Linked DNA regions of Homo sapiens: all the other regions are linked to region 1. Evidence: promoter capture Hi-C in 16 types of primary human blood cells and fetal thymus (Javierre and others, 2016). All regions are on one chromosome and are shown on one strand. The core of a region is centred on a gene start or on the middle of the fragment in contact, and the rest is flanking DNA. Distances in the headings are between cores, read along the strand shown.

Region 1 (3,412 bases), core at 548-3,047:
ATGCAGACAATTGATTGGAAATGAACTCTTGAAATAGTATCTTTAATCTCTTTCTTTTTTTTTAAGTCACCACTTCCTCAAAATGCAACTTCAATTTACAAGAGGTTCTTATAGCAAGGAATCCGGAGTTATGCTTTCTTCCACGCGTTATTAAAGATAGTTCTTTAACAATGACAGACCTAATATAAAGAAGAAGAATTATTCTTGAGTAATTATAGCACTATTAAAAAGCTAGGAAGTTTATAGAGGAAGATGTTTTCAGAGACATGACTGGGAAGGTGATAATTTTGGTTTTGCACTTTTAAGATTTGAAGTCATAGGACCTCCAAGAGAAATTGAAATTTGTCCAACAGAATGTTGGAAATATGAGCCAGGTGAAGAAAGATCAGGGGAGAATGCAAATTGATTTGGTCATTTACATAGGGATAGTACTTGAAGCTATGAGAGTAGATGAGCTCTACAAGGCTAAGAGTGTGAAGAAAGAGCAAAAGGCTGAGGTCTGAGCCATGGAAGGAGACAGGAAACCCCGAGTGATGTGTAGGAATAAAACTAAAAATGTATCAATTCTATAAATATTCTGATCATCTACTATGTGTGAAATATTTAAAACAATTCTGATTTCTAAGTATTTTAGAATGAGGGGTGTGTGTGTGTGTGTGTGTGTGTGTGTGTGGTACAGTTAGAGGGTTGCATAGATATAAGTGAAAGTAACGAGAGTAATAAGTGAGAGTAATCAATTTTATCCCAGGATTTGAAGATCCCATAAGATGGAATTGAAAAATGTGTGTTTTAAATTGCTGTCTAAAGACTGACAGAATAAACATTTTTAAAAACTATTTTCCAGCATTTCAAAAGCTAAATGGCATCAGCTTTGCAACCACTTATGAATAGAAGTGTTCTATATGTTACACATTCTCCTGGTTTGTGTTTTTCTGTGGGATTCATTTAATGTAATTAGTTATTGTTCTCTGACAATCTTTAAGCTTAAGCAACATATATATGTGGTATTAATAGAACCTATGGTGTTTACTGATAAAATTGTGACAAAATTGTAGAAAAACCAAAGCCTTTTATAATTCTTGGGAATTACATTAAGGATATACTTTTTTTTTTTTTTTCTGGTTACACAGGATCACGCTCTGTTTCCCAGGCTAGAGTACAGTGGTGTGATCATAGCTCACTGCACCCTGGAATTCCTGGGCTCAAAAAATCCTTCTGCCTCACTCTCCCAAGTAGCTGGAACCACAGTCATGCACCATCATGCCTGGCTAGTTTTTTATTTCTTCATAGGTATAGGGTTTCACTATGTTGCCTAGGCTGGCTTCGAACTCCTTGCCTCAAGTGAGCCTCTCACCTCAGCCTCCCAAAGTGCTTAGATTACAGGCATGAACCACCATGCTCAGCCATGGAAAAACTTTAAAAAGGATTTATGTATAATCAAATTCTTACATTTCTAACTGTATAAATCGTTGTCCTCATTTTTAAACTGAGGGCTGCTTACCACTTTTTCCCAATACTTCACATAATGCTACCTGGAAATTACCGATATTCTAGTTTGTATGCAACCTTAGCTTTTTAAATTCACATCTTTTAATATTTTTCTAGATGATACATACCTTTTCTCGATGTGTGTTATGCTGTGCTGAAGAAGTGGATCTTGATGAGCTTCTTGCTGGAAGATTAGTTTCTTTCTTAATGGATCATCATCAGGAAATTCTTCAAGTACCCTCTTACTTACAGACTGCAGTGGAAAAACATCTTGACTACTTAAAAAAGGGACATGTAAGTATTGTGAGTCTTAAAATTCTCTGCAATAGTCAGTTGCAAGTGGCAAACTCATCTCAAAATAGCTTAATCAAAAAGGGAGACTTTATCAGCTCCCATAAACAACCTCTAAAAGTCAGGAATGTAGACAGAATCTGGGACTCAAATAGCTATATGACTCTTTCCATCCCTCCATCTCTTATTTCTGTGTTGATCCTGTGTTTGACAATGGCTCCTTCACATGATGAGGAATGTGGCTAGTTGAAGTTCATGAGTTAGAGCCTTACATTTGCAATTCAAAGGAAAAAGAGCCATTCCTCCGTCTCCAATTTAAAAGCTCTGGATGTAGACTCTTAGCATAGTTGAGGTTAAATATGCATCGTTTAGGTTGTTAAGAGTGAGTAGGATGGAGATAGGGCCTTACTCTGATTGGTTCTACACAAAGGAGAATTTATTCTTCACAAAAGGTGAAGGTAGAGGGGTAAAATGGGAAGGAACTATTAAAAGAAGGAGAGAAGGAATACTGAGCAGCCAAAATAACAGACATCTACTGTATTCTGTCTTTGGCTGCCCAACACATGTTTATGTTTTTCCCATACATACCATTCTAATATTGCCCTGGCTTATAATTATAACTATCTCCTAGAATTTCTTTCTCTTATCAGAAGATGTTAGAAGCTCTGCCTATGTCCCTAGGCCTCAAAAAAAAAAAAAATACATGAAAACTAAAAATATTTCATTTCAGTAAATATGCTGATCATCTACTACCTGCACTGTCAGAACATTAAAGTCTTAAGATGAATTAGAATAACACTTAGATTGTTATTTTATAGTTAAAAGAATAAAATCCATAGTTAATGGTAATAATTATAATACCTGTCTTTATTTAATGCTTATTGTGGGCTGAGCCCTTTCTATACATTTTCTTATGTAATTTCCATTTTAATGATGAAGAAACAGACCAAGAAAAGTTAAATACATTGTTGAATGCTACAAACCAAGTAGATTATGGAGCTGGGGTTTAGAACCTACTGACTTACATACCTCTACTGCATAATACATAGTTTTTTTAATGGCTGAATGTTTGATTGGTGGTAAATTAATAGGTGCTAGATCCCATCAAAAGAATACTTTATCATATAAGAACATGACCAGAATTAACAGAGTTATATCATTTTGATCACTACAGATTGAAAATCCTGGAGATGGACTATTTGCTCCTTTGCCAACTTACTCATACTGTAAGCAGATTAGTGCTCAGGAGTTTGATGAGCAAAAAGTTTCTACCTCTCAAGCTGCAATTGCAGAACTTTTAGAAAATATTATTAAAAACAGGAGTTTACCTCTAAAGGAGAAAAGAAAAAAACTAAAACAGGTAAGAGAATGAGCAAGTTCTCAATCATGTAAACATTTTCTAATGTGCTGTTCCTGGTTGTTAATAACATTTAGAATCTACTTTCTTATTTTAATATTTTAGATTTTAAGTTTGAGTTATATAGACTATATATTATGATGTCTTGTATATGTGCGTTAACCTAAAACATGTGAGTACCTACCTGATTTTGCTCTTTATCCTGAATTTTAAAATAATACCAACAGTAATAATATATACTCTCCTTTTTCACTGGTATTTTGTATAATTATAGCT
Region 2 (3,412 bases), core at 558-3,057, 1.7 Mb before region 1:
AGAGACTCTTCATTTTACTAAAATAGCGACCCAAAGTTGTATCACTGCTTAGGAATTTTTCTTAAACTTACAGAAGAGTGAAATATTTCACTAACTGAATTATATGAGCTGAAATGAGAAAAAGAAAATTTATGTGTGTGTGTTTGGCATATGGGAAAATACAAATTCATATAGGTAGAAGTAGAACTTCTTTATAGAGTAGTAAAAGGATTATGCCCCAAAATAACTGAGGTCAAAAGTAATCAATTATGAAATCGTTTAGGAAAAAATAATTTTCATAGATACTTAGAAAACATCCAAAACATAATATCTAGTATCCTTTTACATATAATTCTTAACAAACCATCTGAAAACCTACCACTGTCTTCCTTCAGAATTGCTTATGTTAGTTTAATATTTCTTTTTTGAATAGAAAGACCCTAGTTCATGTTATGGTTTTCTTATATATAGCTGGTTGGGGGAGCCCTTGGGCAGTTATAAAGTGGAAAAAATAAAACTGTATTATTACTTTCAATAAGCAACAGTAATCTTGCAGTAGTTTCACTTTTTTCAAGGTCTTTTGTGGTGGTCTTTAAAATTTACAAACAGAATTTGGTAGATTTACTTCTAATTTTCCACTAGTAAAAAATTTCTTCTTCATATGAAGACAATGTCATTATCCTTAAGCTTCCTTTAGTCCCTACTGAGTACAAAGAGAAACTTGATTGGCTCTTCAAACAAAAACTATCTGTTTATCTGTCAATTACCTTTCTCTTCATTTCAAACAGAAAATAGGCTTGTGTTTTCAAGGATGAAAGTGTATTTGAGGATGTTAAAGAGAAATGCCCAAACATTATAAAGCCGAAGTATTAAGCATTCATTGCATTCCACTGACGCTAGGTGTCATCAAAGCTAAAACCAAATTTTCTAGAGTAAAACTTACATACAACAGTCCTTACTGACCTGAACCAGATGCCTTTTCCACATTCAAGCCAAATAAGAGTCCTCTGAGTGGAAAGACTACAAGTATTGAAAATAAAAATTATTTCAACAATATATTCTGAAAATTAATGACCTTTCTAGCAGATATGGGAGCTGCTTTATGTTGTCTGCCTGAGAGTTTCATCTTGCTTTTCCTATGGACCGTCCAAAAATATTACATAAGATTTCCTGACTAAATAAGAAATATTCTTTAGTAGAGGGTTGGGGAAGGGTAAGAGGAATGGAGAGATACAAAGAAATACAATGTGATTTCTTTTGTCCATTTGTCAAATGCTTTCGTTAAGCTATTAAAAAGGTCAATTGACCTGCATACCTGGGCATTATTTAACCTCATTATTTTAGCTGTGCAAAACAAATGTGCAAAGAAAAACACCTCCTATTTATGTGTGCCTATACATAGACACAAAACCTGAGTCACCATAAAAGTTTTCAATATAAGAAACCTTTTCTTAATATAGGAAAATAACCTTTAAAGAGCCAAAAATATCTTTGTACAATATAAGCAGCTAACTTTAAAACTTCAGTGTACTTAAGTATCACATATTTTATAAGATCCAGCAAAAAAGGGATCATTTACATTTGATAATTTTCTTAACTATAGCTGAGATAACCACATTTTAATTTCTAACATGTATTTTCATTCCCCTGAATTCATTGATTTTTTTTTTAAAGCACATTCAAATAAGTCCTGTTTAATTTCTGACAAACAGTTCCTGCTTGTTTCTAGATATTGAGGACATAGGAGATTTAGGATTGCTAGGCCTATAATTTAGTGCCAAGCCACAATGGAATTCCAAAGTTCAAAACAAAATATATCATTTTATTAAGAGAAACATTATTTGCAAAAGTATTTGTAGACAGAGTTGGGCCAAAGTCTGCATGAAGCTATTGTCTCATTTGCAGGCTCCCTTTCTACTGACTTAACTCTTAAAAACCCTTTCTTTCTCCATGCTCCATTTCCTTATTTTTCAGTAGGCTTCATACCCTTTTCGTACCTGAACCCTGAATTGTCCCAACTGAATGAAGCTCCCTTGCTCATTTGCAGCCACCAGTTAACAATGTCCTCTTATCTACATCTTTTGTTATCTCTTCCTCTTTATGAGCTTAGAACTCTGGGATGACTCCTTGGCCTCTCCTCCTGTGCCACTTAACTACTCATTAGAGGAAAATCTGCTTGAGTGTTCCATTGCCTTATTAGTCACTGATTTAAGGCTCAATTCAGGACATACTTATTCCCTGGGCTACACCTCAGTTGCGAACTGAGGAAAGTTGTTTATAGAAAAATGACTGAAAGTTGCTTCTCGATGCTGCTCCCAGTGGTCCTTGTCATTAATTATGCATTTATGTCAGTTAAGTCACTGACACTTAGGGAGAAGGGAAAGCCATCTGAACCAAAATATTCAGTCTTTGTGGCTGTGATTGGATAGGAGGGCCTTTGAATACTTGTATCAGTAAAGAGATACTGGGCAGGGCCCTTGAATGCTTTTTTTCTCAAGCCTGGTTTGGGAATAAGGTGGAAAATGCATGCAAGAGAGTAAAGGATTAGAGGCATTAGCCAAGGGAACTGTAGTCAATTCCTGACTTTTTATATTATACTTGCCTGAGGATCACCAGAAGGATTTTGTCTTGTGCAGAAGGCTAAAAGCAGAGTCATACTTTCTCTGCCAACAGACTTGTTGCCATGGGAACCAGTGCAGAAAAATGAAAATATGACAAGAAGCCAAGGATTAAATGTAGAAAATTGATAGGGAGTTGATTTCTACATGGCAATTTAAGCATTGAGGATTTAAAGAAACAGGATGTTCCTTATGTGGCCAGATCAATGAAAATGGACAAAATGACTTACCAGTAGCTGGTCCTAGGGGGCTGAGGTGTGGAAAATGGAAGGAGAAAGTAGTAAGCGTGCTGTAGTTTGGATAAGGGGAACTTTGTAAAATCTAATTCCACTCCTGATGAGGTTAAGCTTGCAGCCCAATGTTAAAATTAACTGTAGGATCAAATATACCCTTTGGAAAGGCATGCCCATGCTTAGCTTGATAAAAGCAGCCTGATGTAACAATTTTCTTTTCACCTTTCCAAAACCAGCACATACTACTCGACAAGATTATTGCACATCTAGTTTATTATTGCTTGATGTATCTTTTCAATTACTCCAACACACAAAAAAACGAAAAAACCCACCATTTGCAAATCTATGCCTCCCTTCCCCCAATAAGGCAGCTATTGTAAGTACCCTAGAATTAAGTTTCTCATTAAGGAAATAATTATTTTACTTCATGTGATACAAGTCCTCCCTGTGTACCCTTCTCTGTCATTCAGTACTTAATAATAAACTGATCAAACCAGACTGTAGGAGTCCAGGAAAACCTTTAACAAGGATTTGGAGTTTCAGCATAATCTGAGAAGGACCTACATGTTGTATTTTCAAAGG
Region 3 (3,412 bases), core at 231-2,730, 1.3 Mb before region 1:
GACTTCAAAGAGCTTCTTTCTATGAATGATTCTTACTATAGACCATCATCCCTGATTTTGCCTCTAACGGCTTAATGAGATGCCAAATTTAAATAAAACTCCACTTGTCAAAAGCAGAACTTGGACATATTTACTAAGCTCCTACTCCTCCGTACTAGACATTGTGCTTTCCTTCATAATTTGTTGTTTTGATTATACTTTAATTCTCTTAATTCTGTACTTGCAGTCCTCTTTTGCTTTTCCTTCTTTCCTTTTTTCCTTCTATATTAAATATTTTATGTCTTTCTTTTCCTTTCTTTACCATTCAGTCAATCTAATTCAGACCCTTGCCATCTTCTAGTAGTAATGCCAATGAAAATACTGCACAAAAGTACACTATTTCTAGACATGTAATAAATACTTATTAATTGTCTACTATATGTTAGGTACTGGTTTATATGTTGAATAATACAAATGAGTTAAAAAGCTATGGTGCCTGCTCTACTGAATTTATTGGATAGTAAGAGAGATGAGCATCAAATAAAAAGTTATTTAAATAAATCCATAATTGCATATTATAATTGCTATAAAAGCAAATATTAGAGTTTTATCCTTTTTACATATTGACACATACATTTAAGACATTAATTAATCTCTTAAAATGCACATCCATTCCCCAGTTTAAAAGCTTCACTGAGTCTACATTTTCAACAACAGTATTTCCCAGACCATGCTCCTGGGTTACATCTTCCTCTTAGACATAAGCTGAGAGGAGATCATAATCCCATATGCATTAGCATATTAAGAACTCATGGAAATTGCTATGGTTTGACTTATGTCCCCTTCAAAATTCATGTTAAAACTTAATCCCCATGTGGTGATATCAAGAGGTGGGGCCTTCTGAGAAGTGACTAAGTCATGAAGACCCCGCCCTCATGAATGGATTAATGCCTTACAAAAGGGCTAAAGGAAACCAGTTTAGGCTCTGTTCTTCTGTTCCTTTGCCATGTGAAGACACAGCAACAATTCCATTCAGTGGATGCAGCAATAAGACATCATCTTGGAAGGGGAGACTGGGCCCTCAACAGACTCTGAACTTGCTGGCACCTTGATCTTGGACTCCTAGCCTCCAGAATTGTGAGAAATAAATTTCCACAGCTTATAAATTACTCAGTATTTCATTATAGCAGCACAAATGAACTAAGGCAGAGGTCTTGTGATAAATTAAAAAACTACATTTATCTTTGTTCAAACCAATGTTTTCTAGATACCTTTTTAATTAAAAATTTAATTATACATATGGTTGTACATATTTATGGGGTACAGGCAATATTCTAATACAAGTGTACAATGTGTGACAATCAAATCAGAGTAATTGGGATATGTATAACCTCAAACATTTATCATTTCTTTGTGTTAGTAACATTCTAAATCTTTTAAATATTTCAAAATATACATTATTGCTAAATAAGAGTTTCCTTGCTGTGCTACTGAACACTAGAACTTGCTCCTTTGCTCTTAACTGTATTTTTTTACCCATTAACCAACCTTTCCTCATTAGTATTCTGAATTACCCACTTTATGAAAGGGTGCTCTACAAGATTCTTTAGCTTGACATTCAAGTTCTCTTTAACCTCACTTTTCAGTTATTATTATTTATTTATTTATTTATTTATTTATTTATTTTTGAGACATAGTCTTGCTCTGTCGCCAGGCTGGAGTGCAGTGGCGTGATCTCAGCTCACTGCAACCTCCACCTCCCGGGTTCAAGCGATTCCCCTGCCTCAGCCTCCCGAATAGCTGGGACTACAGGCACATGCCACCATGCCTGGCTAATTTTTATATTTTAGTAGAGAAGGGGTTTCACCATGTTGGCCAAGATGGTCTCGATCTCCTGACCTCGTGATCCGCCCACCTCAGCCTCCCAAAGTGCTGGGATTACAGGCGTGAACTTTTCAGTTTTCTACCTTCTACTTCCCTGAAGACACTTTCCCTATTCTATGCTCTAGCTTACACTACTCCCAAAACTGAATATCTTTCATCTATTTTCTTCATCTATGTCAACCCTACCAATCTATGGTAAAACTTATATTTTTAAAAAATAATGTTGAATGATTTTTGTTTGTAATTATAATTTGTAAATCTTAAAACATCACAGTAGCTGATGTTACAGAAACCTGAGAATTGGAACTTTTTGGTTGATAGAATATTCCGTCTCACTCTTTAATTTATTTAGGTCATTGTTTTCTAGTCATAGTGTGCATTGTTAAACAAAATCCACAGAATTTGAGTTTGGAGCACTTATTGAAGCTTAAATTTGTCTTCTTTTTAAAAATCTTCTGTTCCATATTTATAAATAATGCTGCTTTCCTGGTCTGTCTTCTACTCTTCACCATTATTACAGTCATTGTAACACTAAAGAACATCAACTTATGGATTATAGGATCAAGCTAGAAGCAATTCCTTGAGAGAAGGTTTGTACTAAGTAGTGGCATATACAAACTCACTCAAAATCTGTCCTCATCATATCACCTGGGTGAAAAACTATACTATAGTACTTTTGTTTTTCTCTTTCCACACATTCTGTCTTGACATTTTTGTCTGCTAACTTATTTAAATATGCAAATATACATGTAAGGACAGTAGAAAGAAAATTACAACATCAGGTTAAAATTAGCCAAAGTTCAGAGACAAGTTCTAATTCAGTAATAAACTATTCCACCTATGTTTCTTGAAGAGTTTGGCTTCCAGGCAAGTTGTGAAACTGACCCAAGAGCAGCATGAAGAAACACATTTCTAAGCATTAGGATACTCTCAAAGATCTAACTTTCATAAGGTAATAACCTAAAATAATTAGTTTCTGGAATAATATCTGAAGGCTTGACCCAGAATAAAAGAATAAAAAGACACAGAATAAAAGAGCAGAGCAGAAGTAGTCAGATAGAGGCTATTTTATTGACAGACTCTCAAGTTTGGAAGGACCCTCAGTCTAATCACTTACCTGATCCTTGAATATATTACTCAGATGATGTTCTTACACCTTAAGATCTCCTGAGAAATTTTCATACTGTAGTACAAGATTTATGTTCTTAATGATGAGTCAGTTATCAAGACAAAGATCAATGATTTGGCATGGTCTATTGAGAAGCCAGAGGTGTGTTTAGTACTTTTAAATGTGTTTTAATCAAATACTTTATTTAATAAAACTTTGAGTATACTGATGGTCAAAATTTATTTTGTTAAAATTTCCACTTTATGTGAAGCATTTTACTCCACAGCTTCTTCCAGAGATTTGAGTAGGAGCTTTAGTAAGGACTAGTAGGAAATCATTTTCTATGTAGTTGTCTCATCTCAGAGATTCCTTGCCTTTTGTGATGAGACGCAATGTTAATTTGGTGCCCTTCACAACACATGATAAGAGACCCATCTTTTC
Region 4 (3,412 bases), core at 653-3,152, 1.2 Mb before region 1:
GGACTGCCCTTCTACTGATTTCTGCCTGTGGTTTCATCACTCTCATCAAAGTCCAGATAATGAGCTTCCTCTTCCAGGAAGCCTTTCCTGATTCCTTTCAATTGTATGTAATATTTCACTGTCCTCTAAATTGCCATTTCTCATTTCCTCTCATAACACTTTTCAATAGATTCTAATTATTTATGTTTCATCACATCAAATGACTAAACTGTAACTTTTTCATAAGCTGCTTTCCTCCATGATTTATCTTTGCATTTCAACAAATTTCAGGGATGGTATATTGTAGAGTATAAGCACTTCATACTTTTAAAAATTTGATAAATATTGCTTATGTATTAAACTGGACAAATTTTTGTTGGTAAGAAATTTCCTCCTAGAGGGAGACTAGATATTGTTGGAAAAATTCCTCAGTATGTCTTCTTGGTGTAGAAGAAGTAACTCAGGGGAGTTGAGTGTGTCTGGGAGTGGCAGAAGGAGAATCTCATTCCGGGAAGAGGGAAGGCCTGGAGAGCAAGGTGAATTGGTGTAAGGCTGTGGCCAGTCCATATAACATACCTCTCTGCATATGACTCTTTTTGCAAATTGTACAAAATATTTGTTATGAGGGTGCTGGATGAGTTTAGCTTTGGGATTAATAAGAGACAGAATAAGAAGAGAGAGAAGAAGAGAGTCCCAGGAATTAGCAAGATTACTGGGTAAATTTTCTAAGCAAAGCTCTTAGGTGTCTGATACACAAGCATTCAGCCATTGTGATTAACATTTTGTGACTGGAAATTCTTATTTGGGGCAAAAGTCTGTATTAATGTTAAACAATTATCTCTATTCCCCAGAATTCAAACCCTTTGATCAGTTTCATACGAGATGCCATGCAGATTCCAACTCTGTGTAATTCAAGTAACTAAGGTTTAGCTGAAATGATCATAAACGTAGCTGGACATTAAGGAAACAGTCATTCAACAGTCTGATTAAATACCATTTGATGTAGCATAGGCCTACAACTTAGAAAACAGGAATCAGATAATTTAATTTCTTTTTCTGTAAAATGGCAGTAATCATCAAACTTAACATCTCATAGTTAAAAAAAAAAGTAAAATAAGCTCTTTCTGTTTGTTTTTGAGACAGGGTCTCGCTTTGTCATCCAGGCTGGGGTGCAGTGGCACAATCACGGCTCACTGGTGGCCTTGACCTCCCAGGCTCAAGTGATCCTCCAACCTCGGCCTCCAGAGTAGATGACGTTACAGGTGAAGGTCACCACACCTGTCTAAATATATATATATACATTTTTTTTTGAGAGACCAAGTCTCACTATGCTTCCTGGGCTGATCTGGAACTCCTAGGCTCAAGTGAGCCTCCTGCTTTGGCCCCCCAAAGTGCTGGGATTACAGGTATGAACCACCGTGCCTGGCCTTAAAATAAGTTCTTCTTAAGAGCAAACACTCTCCTTAGAAGAAGGGTATTTGTTATTATTATTTTTTATTACAATAGGTAAAATTATATGCCTAAAATATATTATTACAGTATCCATGAAAGTGATATCTTAAAAATAAACTATTACATTCTTGTTGTCTGTAATCTTGTCATTTTGTTGAAAACAAAACGTGCCCCTCCACGTTCAGGGAGATTCGCCATTCAATACACTGGAGGGAATATGTGGCTAAATTTAGAACAACAGATCTTTGTGTTACATAGGCAGCAGTTATTATTTAAAGTATGCATAGACTTGCTTTTTTCCCTTGCAGATAGCTGAAACTGGGCCTTTCCATGGCTAATGCAATATGGACATCATCACCCCACTCCTTCATACAAGAGAAATAAAGCCAGCAAAGCACACATACTTTTAAACACAGTATTTTATTATTCTTTTATAAGAGACCAAATGCACTTAGTCACTAGTGATACTACATTTTTAATGCTGAAAGAAAAAATAAAAATAACTTTTTGTTATAATAGAGACCAGAATACTAGCCCTAATGGTTCTTTTTTTGTTGTTGGTTTGTTTGTTTTGTGAGATGGAGTCTCGCTCTGTCGCCCAGGCTGGAGTGCAATGGCGCAATCTTGGCTCACTGCAACCGCTGCCTCCTGGGTTCAAGCAATTCTCCCTGCCTCTGCCTCCTGAATAGCTTGGATTACAGGCGCCCACCACCAAGCCTGGCTAATTTTTCTATTTTTAGTAGAGATAGGGTTTCGCCATGTTGGCCAGGCTGGTCTCAAACTCCTGACCTCAGGTGATCTGCCTGACTCGGCCTCCCAGAGTGCTGGGATTACAGGCGTAGCCACTGCACCTGGCCCTTTTTTTCCTAAATAAAATACTTTAGAAAATTAAATTTTAAAGCACTTGCGCGTGTGCACGTGTGTGTGTGTGTGTGTGTGTGTGTTCTTTTTCTCAGTGCTACCACTGTCCTCATTGGTTGGGGGTACACTTGGCTAAGTGACTGAGCCTCCAGGTTAAAGTCTATTTTAAACGACTTTATGAGATAACTTATATATGAAAGTATTGTTTGAAAGCCTTTTGAAAGGCTCCTTGCTTTGGGCCATAACTCTTTTTAGTGGCATTTCTGGTTTCTAGATTTTTAGTCAAAATTTTTGAAATACAATCTCCTCATGCAGTGCTTTGATTATATGTAAATGATGACACAAGATCCCCACTCATTGTGCATATTAGGTACATGCTAATTCTCACCAGCATATACTTCCTGAACTTTCTACATCTTTCTGTGGCCCAAGCTGCATTTGACTCCAGTTTGACCTGCCTCCGACATGCTACTCAAAAGTGGAAAGTACGGTTAAAAGTCCTTAGGGTATAAGCTCCTACTTAAAACATGGTTTCCCAGGGGCAAAGACCTTGTTCAGTTATGCTTATAATCAGTGTTTATGACTCTAGACACTGTAATATTTATCAAGTGTTGCTACAGCACTTGAGCCATGACGACACGGTAAATAGGCCAGATTTGAATGCCAAGCACTACAACTACCCAGCTTCACATTTCAATTATATTTAAATGAAATTGCCTAATGCAAGTGTTTAAAAGTTCATTAAAATTAACCTTTTGAATCCAGAGGGTGCAGTGGGCACTTGTGATAATACCACAGTTCTAGATTTAGGTTTTCAATTACTGAGTAAATGAAAAATTCAGGGGATTTGAAATGTCAAGGATGCTTTGAAACAGATATTGAATTGGCTAAGAACTTTAACTCAGTCTCATGGTCAATGTTCTCTAGTGTTTTGTGACATGATCACTAACAGTCATTGATTATTTAGTGCCAACAATGTGCTAGGAGCTGTTGAAGTACAGGCACTGCATATCAAAGAAATGTGATAAGCATTACTCCAAGCAAGAATTGTGATAGAGAGCATATTTAGATTGAATTACAGGTTTGACAGAAATTTTAAACAGCCACACTCAGTTTATCA
Region 5 (3,412 bases), core at 260-2,759, 1.2 Mb before region 1:
TGCTGTTCATAAGCTGGAGACCCAGGAAAGCCAGTGATGTAGTTTGAAGGCATGCGAGACACGGAACCAACAGTGTAGACTCCTGTCCGTGTCTGCGAGCCTGAAAACCAGGAGCACCAAAGGCAGGAGAAGATGGATGTCCCAGCTCCAGCAGTGAGCAGAGCCACACTTTTGTTCTATTCACGTCCTCATGGATTGGATGGTCCCCACCCACATTAGGGAGGGCTGCCTGCTTTAGGGAAGGCCCATATTAGGGAGGGCTACCAACTTAAATACTATTTTTTTTTCTGAAAACATTCGCATAGACACACCTGGAAATAATGTTTAGCCAGATCTGTGCATACTGTGGCCCAGTCAAGTTTACATACAAAATTATCCAACATGCTGTGTATTACAAGCACACAAGAGGGAGAGCCATACAGCTGACATTAAGTCAATATTTGTTGAATAAATGAGTGTAATTTGATCATCATATTTTGGAAGCTTCAAGAATAATGTAAGACACAATTTGAGATGACAGTAGAATATGAAGGGTCAAGGCCTTGGTTTAGAATGGTCTTGCAGTTAAATCCACATTGCTCCTCCTCTCTGCTCCCAGTAATCTCAGAAGGACCCACGAAAAAGTAGGGATTGATATCTGGGTAAAGGCTGCCCTAATAAATGCCCTTCTAGCTGTCTAAAGGCTTAATATTTAAGCCTAATGCCTTAAGAGATAAAGACTTTAGGGAACATTAGAAGTGAGGTGCTTATCATGCACTCATCTATTTTCTGTGTAGAGGGATTTCCCCAATACTCTTGACTTCTTATATCATTTCTAACTCCGTTAGGAAGTGAGGTGATTTACCCAGTTAATAAATACTGGAGGAGAACTGGGCATAAGTAGCCCAGTACCTTCCTCCATCTTTCTTTGAGATGGAACTGCTTCAGCTAAGATACACTACATTAATCTGCTCCTCACTGCTGTAAGTTTTGTAGCAGGAGTTCCCCAAAAAAGAAGCCCTGTGGTTTCTTGTACTGCTGTGTTTAGGTGGATAGGTATGCCCATTTCTAGAGTATATTATGAAAAACCCCATAGTTGCCAAAAATCCCAACTGTGTTCTCCAATCTAGCCTTTATAAGTAATAAAGATCAAGCATCATAAAAATCTTTATTACTTAAAAATAATGTCTGATATCTTGTCAATATTTTAATTGGTTTCAAAATTGTTTTGCAATATGAAAGTTATCTATTGGATGCCTTTAAACTCCAACTGTACTGTCAACTACAACTACTGTGGCTTAAATCAAGTTGCTTCTTTTCTTTTCTTTTTTTTTTTTTTTTTTTTTTTTGAGACAGGGTCTCCCTCTTTTGCCCAGGCTGGAGTGCAGCAGTGTAATCACAACTCACTGCAGCCTCGACCTCCCAGGCTCAAGCAATCCTCCCACCTCAGCCTCCTGAGTATCTGGGACTACAGGCATGTGCCACTACTCCTGGCTAATTTTTGTTCTTTTTGTAGAGACAGAGTTTCGCCATGTTGCTCAGGCCCATCTCAAGCTCCTGAGCTTAAGCGATCCACCTGGCTTAGCCTCCCAAAGCATTGGGATTACAGGGGTCAGCCACTGTACCTGGCCAAGTTGTATCCTTTATAATTCATTCCTTTTTATTTTTTTCAAACTTTATTAGAGTGATGACTGTATACCAAATGCTGTGCTTAATGTTAGTGACAGACAGATAAATAGGATGCGTCTGTTTGCCCTTAAGCAATTTACAACTCACTGGGGAAGAAACAGACATGCAAACAACGAGATAAAACACAATTAGATGAGTGCTACAATAATAATCTTTTTGTAATATTTCAGGAACAGATAGAATGGAGGTCCTGAAACCATCCCTATAAACTTCATAAAATTATTCAGGTAAGAAGGGAGGGGGAGAAACAAGAAACAAAAATAAACCAAACTTTCAGCCCATTCAATGTTAAACACTAGGCCAGCTTGCCCTCTGACCTGCTTCCCCATGGTTGTTTGGGGCCTATTACCTCAGAATCACCCAGACCCTGTTACAAGATTATTTCCCCTTAGCTGCTCTATAGATAACTTCCTGAACATTATGAAACATTGTTTTCCCTTTGAGATATTCTTTCAGGTCCTGCATACTAGTAAAACTGCTGATATCAGCTGCTCTGTAGGACCCTATTGACACAAGCTGGTCTGAAAGACCCCACAAGAAGCTGAGTCACCAAAGAATGGGTTTCAATGTAATGATGATTTCATTCTCCTTACCTCAACCAACAACTCCAATTTTCCAGGCCCTTACCCTCTATGATTCCCTTAAAAAGCCCAGCCCAGAACTTCAGGATGGGGAAATGGATTTGAGGGTCTCCTTCATCTCCGCACTTGGTGCTCTGCTCTGTGGTCATTTAGCTTTTTCTCTGGGGCAAATCCAGCTGTCTCAGTGTATCTGGTGTGTTATTGTATAGTGGGCATATGAACCTGTTGGTCCTTTAACAGTCCTGATGTCTGCCAAGAAGAGGAGGAGAGGCATCAGGGAAGCTTTCATAAGGAAGGAATGAATAACAAAATAGTTACTGCTAATACGAAAGGAAGGGTGTAAAAAGGGCTGAAATTTTATTCAAAAAAATCCTTCATCAAATAACAAAACTAACCTTTGTCAAAAATATGTAGTAGTTGAAATTTGCTTTTCAAATCCCTCACTTAAATATTTTTCTGACTTTTTCCTACTTCTTCCCGGACATCCAAAGATCTCTTGCTACCTGATTCCTTCTAGTTATTGAGGCCATTGATCTGAAAACACTTTCATGTTGAATGAAGTTTTATGACTTGACTACAGTTACTCCTCAGAGACATTTGCATTTTTTAAAAAGCCCAGTGGGAGCTCAAGTCCTACACAAACGACTGATTTGCTAAGCCAGAGGTGCTAGGAAAATAAGTGGCAATGGATCTTTAAAAAAATTATATCCTATGTAGCATCTCAGGAAGGGTTTGGCTGCAAAAATAACTATGGAGGCTGGAGCAAAGCTATGGACCTTCCATAGAAGAGCTTACGATGTAATTTTGGTAAGTTATTTGCCTGAAGTTTGAATGAAAAAACCATCTACATATAACTAAAATGCTTCAACTTGGTACCAAATTTGCATTAACTTGATTTCAATTTTCTGAAGGTCTAAGAATATTCAGGCTGTGAATCTAATTTGATGTAATCCTTTAATCTTATTTTTATATTATGCTAAAATAATCAACTGTATTAATTTTGGATGTGCAGAGAAAATTCAGCCTAGTACAACTTCACTTTTTAAATTTATTGTTACGACACTGTTTAACTGGAACCCGAGGTATTAATAGAAGCATAATATGTAATAGGATTTTCTAGCTTACTATTAGAGATAATGAGAAATCACTGACCACTTGTTTGT

What was found. The method cuts DNA at HindIII sites, captures the fragments that hold promoters and counts their contacts. A CHiCAGO score of 5 or more calls a contact.
Region 2: a fragment that was not itself captured here is called in contact with the fragment with the promoter of DEPDC1-AS2 in region 1 in 1 of 17 cell types (megakaryocytes); the score reaches 5.9 in megakaryocytes.
Region 3: a fragment that was not itself captured here is called in contact with the fragment with the promoter of DEPDC1-AS2 in region 1 in 7 of 17 cell types (M2 macrophages, endothelial precursors, megakaryocytes and 4 more); the score reaches 17.3 in M2 macrophages.
Region 4: a fragment that was not itself captured here is called in contact with the fragment with the promoter of DEPDC1-AS2 in region 1 in 3 of 17 cell types (M0 macrophages, endothelial precursors and M2 macrophages); the score reaches 7.8 in M0 macrophages.
Region 5: a contact is called between a fragment that was not itself captured here and the fragment with the promoter of DEPDC1-AS2 in region 1, in 1 of 17 cell types (endothelial precursors). The highest score is 6.7, in endothelial precursors.

What each region holds. Positions count from the first base shown.
Region 1 is chr1:68,477,514-68,480,925 of GRCh38, reverse strand. It overlaps DEPDC1-AS2 (DEPDC1 antisense RNA 2), which reads right to left and starts at 1,797. Exons shown (of 2, transcript NR_198991.1): 1 at 1,617-1,797. It overlaps DEPDC1 (DEP domain containing 1), which reads left to right. Exons shown (of 12, transcript NM_001114120.3): 10 at 1,606-1,782; 11 at 2,954-3,139. The HindIII fragment of the contact is 5,599 bases long and covers 986-3,412 here.
Region 2 is chr1:70,139,784-70,143,195 of GRCh38, reverse strand. It overlaps LRRC7 (leucine rich repeat containing 7), which reads right to left. Exons shown (of 27, transcript NM_001370785.2): 27 at 1-3,412. Among named protein-coding and RNA genes, the nearest start is that of LRRC40, 64 kb to the left of the region's middle. RefSeq lists an enhancer at 1,931-2,432. The HindIII fragment of the contact is 2,278 bases long and covers 669-2,946 here.
Region 3 is chr1:69,748,315-69,751,726 of GRCh38, reverse strand. All of the region lies in intron 2 of LRRC7 (leucine rich repeat containing 7), which reads right to left. Among named protein-coding and RNA genes, the nearest start is that of LRRC7, 180 kb to the right of the region's middle. The HindIII fragment of the contact is 1,622 bases long and covers 670-2,291 here.
Region 4 is chr1:69,711,199-69,714,610 of GRCh38, reverse strand. The region is part of intron 2 of LRRC7 (leucine rich repeat containing 7); the gene reads right to left. Among named protein-coding and RNA genes, the nearest start is that of LRRC7, 140 kb to the right of the region's middle. The HindIII fragment of the contact is 4,412 bases long and covers 1-3,412 here.
Region 5 is chr1:69,689,714-69,693,125 of GRCh38, reverse strand. All of the region lies in intron 2 of LRRC7 (leucine rich repeat containing 7), which reads right to left. Among named protein-coding and RNA genes, the nearest start is that of LRRC7, 120 kb to the right of the region's middle. The HindIII fragment of the contact is 2,048 bases long and covers 486-2,533 here.